Linked DNA regions of Homo sapiens: all the other regions are linked to region 1. The links are contacts of gene promoters, found by promoter capture Hi-C in human tissues and cell types (Jung and others, 2019). All regions are on one chromosome and are shown on one strand. The core of a region is centred on a gene start or on the middle of the fragment in contact, and the rest is flanking DNA. Distances in the headings are between cores, read along the strand shown.

Region 1 (4,588 bases), core at 1,037-3,536:
ATGACATGTTTGTTCTTGGCAGGCCGGGTGTGTCTGTGCCTATGTATGTAACATGCATATCCTCTATTACTGCAGTGTAAAGATTCACGCAAGTGTCATTAGTTTTACAGTTCTATACAAAGTTTACCAGTTTTAACTCTAGGGTTAGGTTGTTGAAGGCTTGACTGAAGAGTCCTTCCGAATGGCACACTCATGAGCCATTACCAGAAGCTTTTATGGGCAGAGGTGGGCCGATCACTTGAGGCCAGGAGTTTGCGAGCAGCCTGGCCAACATGGCGAAACCCCATCTCTACTAAAAATACAAAAATTAACTGGGCTTGGTAGCACACGCCTGTAGTCTCAGCTATTTGGGAGGCAGAGGCAGGAGAATTACTTGAACCCAGGAGGCGGAGGTTGCAGTGAGCCAAGATTGCGCCACTGCACTCCAGCCTCGGTGACAGAGCGAGACTCCAAAAAAGAAGCTTTGATGGAAGGGAAAACAAGCAGGCATACAAAATGGTCCCCTGAAACACCGCATTTGCAGAGGATGGATTCGAAGTCAAACAGCAGGGACTTTCCTTCTTAAAAATTATGACTCCTGCAAACATGTCCATGGGTTGCTATGCAACAGGCACATCCAGTCAATACAGAGCACATAAATTAGCAATAAACGTGAGGGCGAAATTGCTTTCTGATTTTTTCCACCAGAAACTTCCTGGAAATGTTCAAACACTTCCTGCATATCTGTGCCACGCCTGAAAAAGTGTCCCTCTCTGTTCAGTGGGCACCAGCTCCTAAGAGCGTTTAAAGATCTTGACTTTGAAAGTTTGACTGCTTGTCCTAAGCTGCTCATTCATCCCTGGGTTGCTGTCCTCACCAACTAGACCACGTATGGGAGAAGAGTGAACCAGGTCTCTTCTAGAATGCAATGCCAGGACTTTAAAATTGCTATCCTTTGTCCCCTTTGTGTTCATTATCTTAATGACCCATTACTTACCTCATCTTACCCTCTTCCTCTTATCCTTAGCATTTTTGCAGTGTGCTTACTTTGTCTTTTAATTAGGTCTGATTCATTGGGTAGCCAAGGTGATGCACTCATCCTGCTGAAAAAGAATTCATCCATGTGGTTCATCCAGGGCATCTGGCTAAAACCCAACACACAAACCACTGCTAAACCTCAGCCTTCCTTGCATGGGAAAGCAGCAGAAAGTTCTCTCTCTTTTTTTTTATTTCCACAAAATCTACATCCTCAAAGCACGCAGAGAAGCAAATGCTGGCTAGAAGTGTCATTGTTTACTCAAGACACTGTACAAAAAAAGAGGAAGGAGCAGACGTTTGGCCACCAAAGCAAATCTGAAGGAATCTTCGAAGGAGGAAGAGTCTAAGAATTTAAGAGGAGGCCATGATGACACGACCATTTTTTGCATCTTTAGGCAAGCCCTGATACTTAATGTCCCTTATTTAAGCCTTTTATGCACAAACATCTTGTCACCTCCACATCACAGCTAGTCCCAGCAAGGAGAGAAACTGGCCAAGATAGGCGTTTTCAGGGAGTTTTCTAGGGAAATGAGGAGAAGTGTGAGTAGAAGGAAGGAGACATGCAGGCTTGGTGGACACTCCGGCAATGCTCATGCCAACCCATGTGGGGAGCCCTTTCTGAACTCATCCCTCCAGTCCCCCAAGTACCACTCCTGTTACCATGCCACACAGAACAGAAATCCCAGCTTGGGAAATAGTGTCCTCAACTATTAAAGAATTGATTTTTTTTCAAAGACATCCAGAAGAGGAGACTCCATACCCTCCCATTCCAGTATGAAAATCGTGACTTATATCCAAATAGTCTCTTTCCAAATGCTTATTAATTTTACTTCCTGGGAAATCTCCTCTTTCAACCTAAACTAGGATAGTCGCAGATAGTTCCTATAAAAACTCTCTCTAGATCTACTGCAGACTTGGCTCCCAGAACCAAATACAGACTTGCAGTCATTGTATTCTCTGTCTCTCTCATCTGCCACTTCACCTTGGTGCACCATGTTATCACATCTAACCCCACACAACCTTGGAAAAACTACAGATGAAAAATTTCCATTTTAGTTTTGATATTACAAGCCTGTTTTGAAACTCTGAATTTTTAGTCCTAAAAATGGTACTATCTAATAGATGTTGTGATACTTTTCTGTCTAATGGACCAAGATGGCTGCAAATACAATGCAAATAGACCAATTAACTCCACATTTCCTCAGAAGTCAGGGTAATAGTGAAAAACTGTTTTAATGGATAGAATCCATTATCATCGAGGGCCATAAACTTGAGTCTTTGAAAAAATAATGAATCAGATAGTTTCATACTAATATTGCTCCTTTTTCCTCCCTTTTAAGGTACCTTCTAATATTACCCGAATCTCCTGATAATGAAAGAATTGAACAATTAGATTGATCATGAAAGGTTTTACAGTATCTTTTCCTCATTATACCTATTATAAGGGCCTTGTCTAATTTGAAGGACCTAGATTTTTTAAACTGGTATTATTGTTTCTAGCTGTCTGATTTGTACCAATATTCAGATATCACTGATACTTCTGATGGTGAGTGTTTATCTAGATGTCTTTGAGAAAGGCATTTTTCTTGCCACTGTCTGTTTCTCTCTCCACTCCTTTTTTTAGTACCTATGCTGCTAAAGGGAGCACTATCTACTCCTCTCTTATGTTCAGATCCTTGGTACATGGTGCAAATCACCTGGCTTAACAGATGTTGGCATTTTGGTGACTTTCTCATTCCTTCTTGGGACCATTCTTGCCGGTGCTTGGCTCATCCTTCCCTTCTCATGTACAAAGGACTTGAACACTTTCAGTGGACAAAGTTTATCAAATATGTTTGCATAAACCCCTCTTTCTGTCTTTCAAGCTACAAGACCTAGGTTTCTCTGCTTAACATTTGCTTCATTTTACTAAGCCTGACCACACATTGTATAGAATGCGATTTCCTTGTTTCTGAGTGATACCAGGTCTTCAGGGCCTACATACAAGGCTGGCTACATAATTTGTAAGGCCCAGTGAGAAACAGAACTTCAGAGCTCCTTGTTAAAACATTATTAAGAATTTCAAGCTTGTGACAACAGAGCATCAGACCAAGAGCGGCACCCTGTGTAACTGCCCAAGTCACACCTCCATGGATCCAGCTCTTCATACATGTATAACTTCATATGAGTAACACTAGGCATGATCTGCAACTTAGCCTTAGTTTGTTTCTTTACTATTTTTAGTTTGCAGACTAAGATCATTGCTTATTTCTCAGTGCTTTGAAAATATCCCAGTGACTTCTGACTTCTATTGTTGTCACCGAAAAGTCTGCCATCCAAAAGAAACTATCAAGAGAGTAAATAGACAACCTATAGAATGGGAGAAAATATTTGCAAACTATGCATCTGACAAAGGTTTAATATCCAGCATCTATAAGGAACTTAAATTTATAAGACAAAAACAACCCTATTAAAAAGTGGGCAAAGAACATTAACAGACATTTTTCAAAAGAAGACACACATGCAGTCAACAAGCATATGAAAAAAACTCAACATCACTGGTCATTAGAGAAATGCAAATTGAAACCACAATGAGATACCATCTCATACTGGTCAGAATGGCTATTATCAAAAATAAACAAAAACAGATGCTGGCAAGGTTGCAGAGAAAAGGGAACACTTATACACTGTTGGTAGGAGCGTAAATTAGTTCAACCACTGTGGAAAGCAGTATGGCAATTCCTCAAAGAGCTAAAAACAGAACTACCATTTGACCCAGGAGTCCCATTACTGGGTATATATCTAGAGGAATATAAATCATTCTACAGTAAAGACACATGCACGTGAATGTTCATTGCAGCACTATTCACAATAGCAAAGATGTGGAATCAACCTAAATGCCCGTCAATGACAGATTGAATAAGGAAAATGTGGTATACATACATCATATAGTACTATGCAGCCATAAAAAAGGAATGAGATCTTGTCCTTTGTGGGACCATGAATGGAGCTGGAGGCTATTATCCTAAGCAAACTAATGCAAGAACAGAAAACCAAATGCCACACATTCTCACATGTAAGTGGGAGCTAAATGATGAGAACTCATGAACACAAAGAAGGGAATAACAGACACTGGGGTCTACCTGAAGGTGGAGGGTGGGAGGAGGGAGAGGAGCAGAAAAGATAACTAGTGGATACTGGGCTTGATACCTGGGTGATGAAATAGTCTGTACAACAAACCCCCGTGACACAAATTTCCCTATATAACGAACCTTCACATGTACCCCTGAACCTAAAGTAAAAGTTTTTTTTTTTTTTTAAGTCTGCTGTCAAACTGTTGTTTCTTTGAAAGTAATCTTTTCTTTTTTTTTTCCCAATTGATTTTGCCCTTTGGCAGCTTTTCCTTATAATGCCTCTAGATTTTTATATCTCGTTTTGAACTAATTATGCTACCTGAATCTGATTTTCATCTTGTTCTAGAAAACTGTCAGACACTATCTTAAAATATTGCCTCTTACCCCATTCTTTCTTTCTGGAGCTCCTATGTAATGCATGCTAGAGCTTCTCATTTCATCTTCCATGTATTTAAGTT
Region 2 (4,235 bases), core at 870-3,369, 370 kb after region 1:
CCAATTCTAGTCAAATCTCTACTCCCTATATGCAACTACTGTTCTCATTTCTATCCTTCAGATTACTTTTGTCTCTTCTTGGATTTCATATAAATGAAATCACGAGGATGTAAACGTTGTGACTGGCTTCCTTTGTTTAACATATTGTTTCTGAGACTTATCCATGTAAAGCGGATTAGCAATTCATTGTCTTATTGCTGGGAGCATTATTATATAGATAGATCACAATTTTTTATTCATTCTTCAATTTGATGCACATGTAGGTTGTTACCTAACACCTACTAGGTTGTTATAAGCTTTTGGCTATAACGAATAATGTTGTCAAAAACATTCTTCTGCAAGCTTTTTTTTTTGAAACATGTTTTCATTTATTTTAGGTAATTACCTGGGGGTGAAATCGCTGAATCATAAAGCAGCTATATTATAACTTTACGAGAAACAGTTTCTAAAGTGACTGTACCGTTTTCATGCCCACCAGTAATGTATGAGAATTCCAGTTGCTCCACACCCTTGGTCTTTGCCGTTTAGTGTTTTCGAGCTTTTACATGTTAGCCATTCTCATCAGTATGAAGTGGTACCTCATTGTGGGTTTAATTTGCATTTCTCTGATGACTAATGATGTTGAACACTTTTCCAAGTGCTTATCATTTGTGTATCTTCGTTTGTTAAGTGCTCAAGACATTTACCCATTTATATTTGTTAGATATATGTTGACAGAAACAATAGTTTTCTGCACATTTTATGTTGAAGGTAATTGATATTTACTGACATGTTAAAAGGGCTTAAAATAGAAACATTTATGCATTTTGTCAATGAAAAACGGAATGACTGAAATATGAAAAAAGTCTTGCCTGTGTAATGTCAGATAACCTTAAAGTCAGATAACTTTATATAAAAATAACTGTAAATTTAAATAACTAATTTTTGTCTTATCCATTATGTTATTATATGTCAAGCTCTTTGAAGTTGGGACCCTGTTTTCTCTATTGACTAAGAGGCAGATCTTTGTGTTTAGTAGCGAAGAAAACCCTATGTCACTGATCTAGTTTGTCTCAAATTGAGCCAGGAACCAAATCCACACCATGCATGCCGAGGTGAGGTTTTCTGTTTCTCTATTTAGCAATGGATGCTGTCAGAAATACAGAAAAGACAGACACAGGGACTATTTTTGAGTTTGCACATGGGAGCACATGCATTGTGCAGGAGGCTCTGCATCCTGGAGTCATCTTGGGCACTTGGCTGTGAGGGCTGGCGTGGGCATCTTGGTTTTAGCTGAATCCTAGCACATTGCTATAGGTACCTCTAAGGCAGGAGAATAGGGCCTGGAGGCAGGGAATCCAAAAACTCCCTAGAACCAAATCAGATAGAAACACTTCAGCTATGACAGGAAATATCCTCTTCATTTACATAGGGAGTACACCAAGTAAATAACTTTGTAACTTCATTTTATCCTCTTCAGTTACATAGTGTGTACACCAAGTAACCAATTGAAACCTCTATAGGTATTTAAACCCCAGAAAATTCTGTAACCAGCCCCCCTTGAGCGGCTTGCTTGGGTCTGCCCCCACCCTGTGGAGTGTACTTTTGCAATAAATCTCTGCTTTTGTGGCTTCATTCTGTCTTTGCTTTGTTTGTGCGCTTTGTCCAATTCTTGGACCTGGACACCCTCCACCGGTAACACTTCTCACTCCTGGCCTTACGTCTAAATCATTCTTGTGTTTTCATGACTTATTTTTAATGCAGATGTCCAGAACCAATTTCAGACCTACTGTGTCAGTCTCTTTGTGGATGGTGCCCATCATGCAACGTTTGGAAAATAATCTAAAGTGATTCTGCTGTGCACCTTCTGTGAACTGGTTTATGCTCACAGGCACGCCTGATTTAGGGTCCTGGGCAGACCAACCTCCAATCAGGAATCGATGAAGCTGGTGTAGATACTACATTAACTTTTAACGAAGGCCTCGTTTCTCCTAAAAATAAGAGACCAGGTGGGTTCTATCTAGGCAGGGTTGGTGGCAGGAACCCAAGGGAAGCTGAGCTGCACCAAGCCGGGCTGGGATCCCCCTCTCTGCGGCCGCGCGCCCGGCTCCGTCGGCGCACGCGCACGTAGGGGCCGGCCGGTCCTGTGCGCACGCATCGCACACGCCGGCGCCTTCCTTTGGGAGCCCGGGCCGGTGGCGCGGGCGCTCGGCAAATGGAGTGGGTGCTCGCGGAAGCGCTGCTCTCGCAGAGCCGGGACCCCCGGGCCCTGCTTGGGGCGCTGTGCCAAGGGGAGGCATCCGCGGAGCGCGTGGAGACGCTGCGCTTCCTTCTGCAGCGGCTCGAGGACGAGGAGGCGCGCGGCAGCGGGGGCGCAGGCGCGCTCCCGGAGGCGGCGCGCGAGGTGGCTGCAGGGTACCTCGTGCCACTGCTGCGGAGCCTGCGCGGACGCCCCGCGGGCGGCCCGGACCCCAGTCTGCAGCCTCGCCACCGCCGGCGCGTGCTGAGGGCGGCGGGCGCGGCCCTGCGCTCGTGCGTCCGCCTGGCCGGGCGTCCGCAGCTGGCGGCCGCGCTGGCTGAGGAGGCGCTGCGCGATCTGCTCGCCGGGTGGCGCGCGCCTGGCGCCGAGGCTGCCGTGGAAGTGCTAGCAGCCGTCGGGCCATGTTTGCGGCCCCGCGAGGACGGGCCGCTACTGGAGCGCGTGGCGGGGACCGCCGTCGCCCTGGCGCTGGGCGGGGGCGGGGACGGGGATGAGGCCGGGCCTGCCGAGGACGCGGCGGCGCTGGTGGCCGGGCGACTGCTGCCAGTGCTGGTCCAATGTGGCGGGGCGGCGCTGCGGGCCGTGTGGGGCGGGCTGGCCGCGCCTGGGGCGTCCCTGGGGTCCGGCCGCGTAGAGGAGAAGCTGCTGGTCCTGAGCGCCCTGGCCGAGAAGCTGTTGCCCGAGCCCGGCGGCGACCGCGCCCGCGGCGCGCGCGAGGCGGGCCCGGACGCCCGGCGCTGCTGGCGCTTCTGGAGGACGGTGCAGGCGGGGCTGGGCCAGGCGGACGCCCTGACGCGCAAGCGAGCGCGCTACCTGCTGCAGAGGGCGGTGGAGGTGTCGGCGGAGCTGGGGGCCGACTGCACCTGCGGGCCCCAGGAAGGAAACGGTACCTGCCTCTTTGCCCCCCAGCCTAGTGCTACCTACTTGGCTGCCCCAGAGGGGAGTCTTCCTGCTTCTAAAAACTAGCTTATCGGGGTCGTCACTCCGATCCATGCAGAATTTGGTTATTCCGCGTTGCTCCCCTAAAGCCTGAAAACCTTTGGAACCCCTTCTCGAGGGTGTTCTTTGAAGTCACAAATCACTGCGGTTGGGAACGTTCTAACCCAGAGCCGGTGGAATACAGCACCCCTGGAATAGTTTAGGAAGATAATGGAGCCCGTGCAAGATTTTACAGACCCAAATCTGCACTATATCATGGTAGATTCAACCCAATAGAAACGGTTGATATCTATCAAGTTGAAAGAAAAATTATTTGTTATTTATCTGTACTGACCAGTGAATTAGTGAATTGAGTGTTGAGTGTTAGAATTAAGCGTCATAGAGGCCATCACACTCTTCTGAAATTTCCCCTGGTAATTAGGAACAGGATTTACTAATATTTGTTAAACATGTTTCTTAAGTCGACCTTTTGAGTGTATTTTTGCCATTGATTTAATAGAATGAATCAGATTTTATTTTTTAACTGTTTGAGCTTTGCTCCCTACTATGTGCAAGAGTAATGAAACAGCAAGGCCTCCCTTCAAGTTGTTACGTTACTGTTGATTGGTTTGACTTCACTCATGTTAAATTTGGGTTTAAACTGTCAAGTACAAAGTAGATTGACTCAAAATTGTCTCAATAGAATATTTCTACTTTTTCAACGGTAGCTGACCATTTATTACAGGTAAAGGATTTTTGTTTGGCTGAAGTTATGAGGTTATATTTTCAAGTAATTTTAAAACATTAGAGAGTAAATATTTGAACAGTCCACAGATAGGTGTGATCATCCCTGAGAGTTTTCACTGGAAAACATTTTTTAAATCATCAAAAATTAAAACATTCATTTATTTACATGAGTCTGTTATTTTGCAGTTTTGTTTGTTTGTTTGTTTGTTTTATGGAGTTTCGGTCTTGTTGCCCAGGCTGGAATGCAATGGCACAATCTCCGCTCACCGCAACCTGCACTTCCCGGGTTCAAGCGGTTCTCCTGCCTCAGCCTCCAGAGTAGCTGGGATTA
Region 3 (4,277 bases), core at 1-2,500, 470 kb after region 1:
CTGCCCAAGATTAAATACTACCCCTTCAGAAGATCCTGGAAAAGTCTACCAGTGAAATGAACTGGAATTTTTTGGTTACTGTTCATATGTTTGTTGTGTTTTTCGATGCTCTTTAATGTGTCAGTTGACATTCTCCAAAGATCTAGCTGATGTAAGTGCGTCAAATAAGGCTGAATTACCAGGCAAGGTTTTCTCTGCGCCTCAAAGAAACTGTTAATTGACATGCCTCAGAGAGCGCTTCATGTCAGCCTACCACTCACAGTATAAGCTCGATGTATCTTAACAGGGAAGAGAAACACATCAAAGTGTGACTTACCCACTGTTGGGGACAACTTGATTCGAAAGAGCTTCTTAACTTCTTGCATTGAGAAGCATCCTCTAAGTTCTCATCTAAACACTTCCAGTACTCATCCCGGGCCCCCCAGCAGACCTGTCTTTCCTTCATAGATGGGGCTGCCATTCCTACTGCGATGAAGCTGTTGGCCAAAATAATATTTGAGATTAACAATGAACTTTGTAATCTGAAGAGAAGATAAGGAAAGAGGAAAACCGTCAATCTCCTCTTCCTTTAAAACTAAAAAAAAAAAAAAAAACAAAAACAAAACAAAACCATGCTTAGGGATTTTGATGAGGCAACTGAACCCAATCAGTTCTCAGTGGCAGCATAAGGCCACCCGCTCTTGAGGCTTATCTCACACTGTGTGATTTGATCCCTGCTGGGGCGGCAGCGTGGGCTCAGAAAGCCCGGCTGAGAACTGTGGTTCTGTCCCAGTCGCTTAGGGCAGCTCATTTATTCTCTCCGAGCCCGTTTCCCACCAGTAAAGCGGGGACAGCAGTGCCTAGTTTACAGGGTTACTGTTCGAACCTAAGCGCTGTAGAAACAGGTGTGTGGGGGCCACAATCACCAAGCAGGCGATTGGAGTGCCACCCCGTTTTGCACAAGAGGAACCCGCGGCTCGGGGACAGTAAGGGACCTCCCGGGCCCATAGTCCACGCGCGCCCCACCCGGACCCATCAGCAAGCCGACCTCTCTGCCCGCCCACGTCCGGCTTCCTTTCGATGTCGACGGGAGGAAACTGTCACGCAGGCCACCAACCGGCGGTGGAGGGCGCGGTGCCGAGTCCTGCCACTGCAGGGTCGCCCCGCTGGCTCAAGCTCTAGAAGCGTAGACCTCCCCAGCCGCAAAAAGCAACTCACGCGGCGAAACCGCGGACTCTTTTGACCCTTCCGAGCTACCATTTACTTTCCATAGAGGGGCGGGACTTCCTGTTTCGCTTTTATCTGTAAGACCGACTTCCGGCCTTCAAGGGCAAGAGGGGTATATACGTATATATCATCGCACGGTGTGTCCCGGAAGGCTTGATATGCTAGTCCCGCGGGACAAGGCGAGCCGAGGAGTTTGTGTGGAAGTTTGCATCTGAGAGTGCGAGAGCTGGACGGAGTGTTACAGAGCCGCGATGCCTTCTCGTTTTGTTTTGTTTTGTTTTTGATACAGTGTCTCGCTCTTCCGCCCAGTCTCGAGTGCAGTGGTGAGAACACGGCTTACTGCAGCCTCAAAATCCTGGACCCAAAAGATCCTCCCACCTCAGCCTGCCTCCCAGGTAGCTGGGACTACAGGCGCACAACACCATCGCTTCTTGGATTAAAAGAAAAGGATGAAACGGGCCCCAGAAAGAGGCGGTGACGTCCCAGAACCCATGGCAGGGGAGTTGGGAAAATAAATATTTGTATTGTTTTAATCTCCCTTGTGGCTTTTTTTAACCCCCGAAACAGCAAGGTATTTTTAAAAGGGATGAAGAGAGTTGCTTCAAATGTTTTGAGACGTTGTTATTTTTAATATGTGAGTGAATATCTTAGAAACAAAATGAACAAGAAATAAAAATTTTAGAAAATATATGAGTTAATCTCTCAGCAGAGTCTTTATTAAAAAGCATGTTTATGGTCAGTCATCTGGCACCCCGTTCTCTTAATAGATCCCATCTGCTCCATCATCTAGTTCTAAAACATTTATATAAGATGCAATTTACAATTTTGCACTCAGTGCAGTTTGATCCATTCCAAATTCAATATATGCAGACTTTTCCGGGTGGCGATGTGAGGCTACGTACCACCAAATATGTGTTCTGCAATATAGAAAGTATTTCCCCCATAGTTAATGCACTCTCATAGTGGAGTTACTTTAGCTTTACCAGAGCCACCCCCTTCTTTTACATCATGTCTATTGACGTCAGTTTACATATAGATATCTTTTAAATATGACTGATGGGATATAAAAGGAATGAAAGGAAAGAGTCTTAGATGACTTCTGAGTCTAAAAAGGAAATGTGTTTTAAATTTAAAATTTATAAGTACCTAATGAAAAATACATATGAAACAAAGTGAAGTGACAGAATTACAAAGAAAAAAAATGCCTGGTCATATTGGGTAATTTTAACAGGACTTTCTCACTAATCGTTAAGACTAGCAAGAGAAAAGTTAAGGATATAGGAAACGTGAATAACATGATGTAAAAATGACGCAATTAATATGTACAGAACAACACGACCAAAATCAGAATGTACAGTTTTTTGAAAGCAGACACATCACCACAGTCAACCACATACTTAGTTATAAAGCAACTCAAGAAATTTTGAAAATTGAAATAATTGTCATTTTTTACTACAGTGCATTTAAGATAGAAATCAATAAAGAACTGTAAAAACAAGCCTGAATAACACAGAGACAGAGTCAATGGTATTGAGAAAATATTTTGAACTGAACCATAAAATAACAATAGCAACACCTGTGGGATGAAACTGAAGCAGCACTTACAGGGACATTTATAGCCATAAGTAAGTGTATTAGAAGAGTCTGAAAAGTCTTGAGCTGAAAATCCCTTTTCAAGAAGTTAGAAAAAGGACAGCAAAATAAGACAGAAAATAGAAGGACAGAAATAATGTTAAGAGCAGAAATTAACGAAATGGAAAATAAAAGCAGTGGTGTACCAGAGCCAGCCTGTACTGGCATAGGAGAGCCAATTGTGCACACCTCTTGGCAACTCCATGATCAATAACATCAAATAAGTAGCTTGAAGTCACCCACGATGGGACTGTTTACACTATGGAACTCAACAAACAAGCCAGGATTTTGTTTTATGTTTGGAGCCAATTCAAATAAGTAGCTTGAAGTCAACCATGATGGGACTGTTTACACTATGGAAATCAACAAGCCAGGATTTTATGTTTGGAGCTAACTCACTAGCACACCACAGCATAGAATAGGTTGAAAGAAGCCAAAAGTTGATTTTTTTTGGAAAAGAAAAATTAAAATTGGCAAACATCTAATAGCTATAAAAGGAGGGATGTCAACAATCTTTATCAAGAATGGAAACTAGAAATACTATAGACATCAAAAAAGTTAGATAATCTTGTAAACAATTTAGTGCAAATAAGATTTAGATGACTGTACAAACTTCAAGAAAAACAACTCAAAAGTAGAGAAACTATTACATAATTTGAATGAGTAGTGAAGAATCTTCATACACACAAATCCCAGGTACGTGGCTCCACCAGTAAGTTCCTACAAACTTTGAAATCATTCCATTCTTACTGAATAAGGCTACCATAACTTTTGTACTAATTATAAAATCCCCAAACCTCTGAAACACCACACACTTTGGAACTCATTTGGTGAAAAATACGACTTAAAGTAACATGAGGCTCTTTATAGTTGTTATTATCACTTAGGTGACTGCATATGCTTTTCGGTAGAAATATTAATGTATTTCATTATGGGTACTGTCCCAGTTCTTGTTGAGAATATTATACAATATATGTTGTATGTTTCATACTACCCTTCTAATATTTAAAATAGTCTATATTTCAAACATCTGGCTCCAGGGATTTCAGGTGAGTTATGTGGACCTATATAAGAAAAAATCTTTATGACTTAGGTTAAGAGGAATTTTTAGCCATAAAGGAAAGTCTCAGTAATTATCAAATGATGTGGCCGGGTGCGGTGGCTCACGCCTGTAGTCCCAGCACTTTGGGAGGCTGAGGCAGACGGATCATGAGGTAAGGAGTTCGAGACCAGCCTGGCCAACATGGTGAAACCCCGTCTCTAATAAAGATACAAAAAATTAGCCGGATATGGTGGTGTGTGCCTGTAATCCCAGCTACTCAGGAGGCTGATGCAGGAGAATTGCTTGAACTCAGGAGGCGGAGGTTGCAGTGAGCTGAGATCATGCCATTGCACTCCAGCCTGGGTAACAGGGAGAGACTTCGTCAAAAAAAAAAAAA

The links. The method cuts DNA at HindIII sites, captures the fragments that hold promoters and counts their contacts. A contact is called where the count stands out against the background at its distance.
Region 2: the fragment with the promoter of TARBP1 here is called in contact with a fragment that was not itself captured in region 1 in 1 of the 25 tissues and cell types used here (mesendoderm cells).
Region 3: a contact is called between the fragment with the promoter of COA6 here and a fragment that was not itself captured in region 1, in 1 of the 25 tissues and cell types used here (H1 embryonic stem cells).

Annotation. Positions count from the first base shown.
Region 1 is chr1:234,846,071-234,850,658 of GRCh38, reverse strand. All of the region lies in intron 2 of LOC107985365 (a long non-coding RNA gene), which reads left to right. Among named protein-coding and RNA genes, the nearest start is that of LINC02961, 88 kb to the right of the region's middle. RefSeq lists a silencer at 1,163-1,457. The HindIII fragment of the contact is 3,900 bases long and covers 337-4,236 here.
Region 2 is chr1:234,477,063-234,481,297 of GRCh38, reverse strand. It overlaps TARBP1 (tRNA guanosine 2 -O-methyltransferase TARBP1), which reads left to right and starts at 2,119. Exons shown (of 30, transcript NM_005646.4): 1 at 2,119-3,125. The coding sequence starts at 2,195. RefSeq lists silencers at 2,003-2,192, 2,223-3,022. The HindIII fragment of the contact is 15,490 bases long and covers 1-4,235 here.
Region 3 is chr1:234,370,429-234,374,705 of GRCh38, reverse strand. COA6 (cytochrome c oxidase assembly factor 6) reads right to left here and starts at 1,250. Exons shown (of 3, transcript NM_001206641.3): 1 at 1,028-1,250; 2 at 317-476. The coding sequence starts at 1,239. COA6-AS1 (COA6 antisense RNA 1) reads left to right here and starts at 1,113. Exons shown (of 2, transcript NR_125961.1): 1 at 1,113-1,283; 2 at 1,496-1,899. RefSeq lists enhancers at 867-1,416, 1,238-2,062. The HindIII fragment of the contact is 13,687 bases long and covers 1-4,277 here.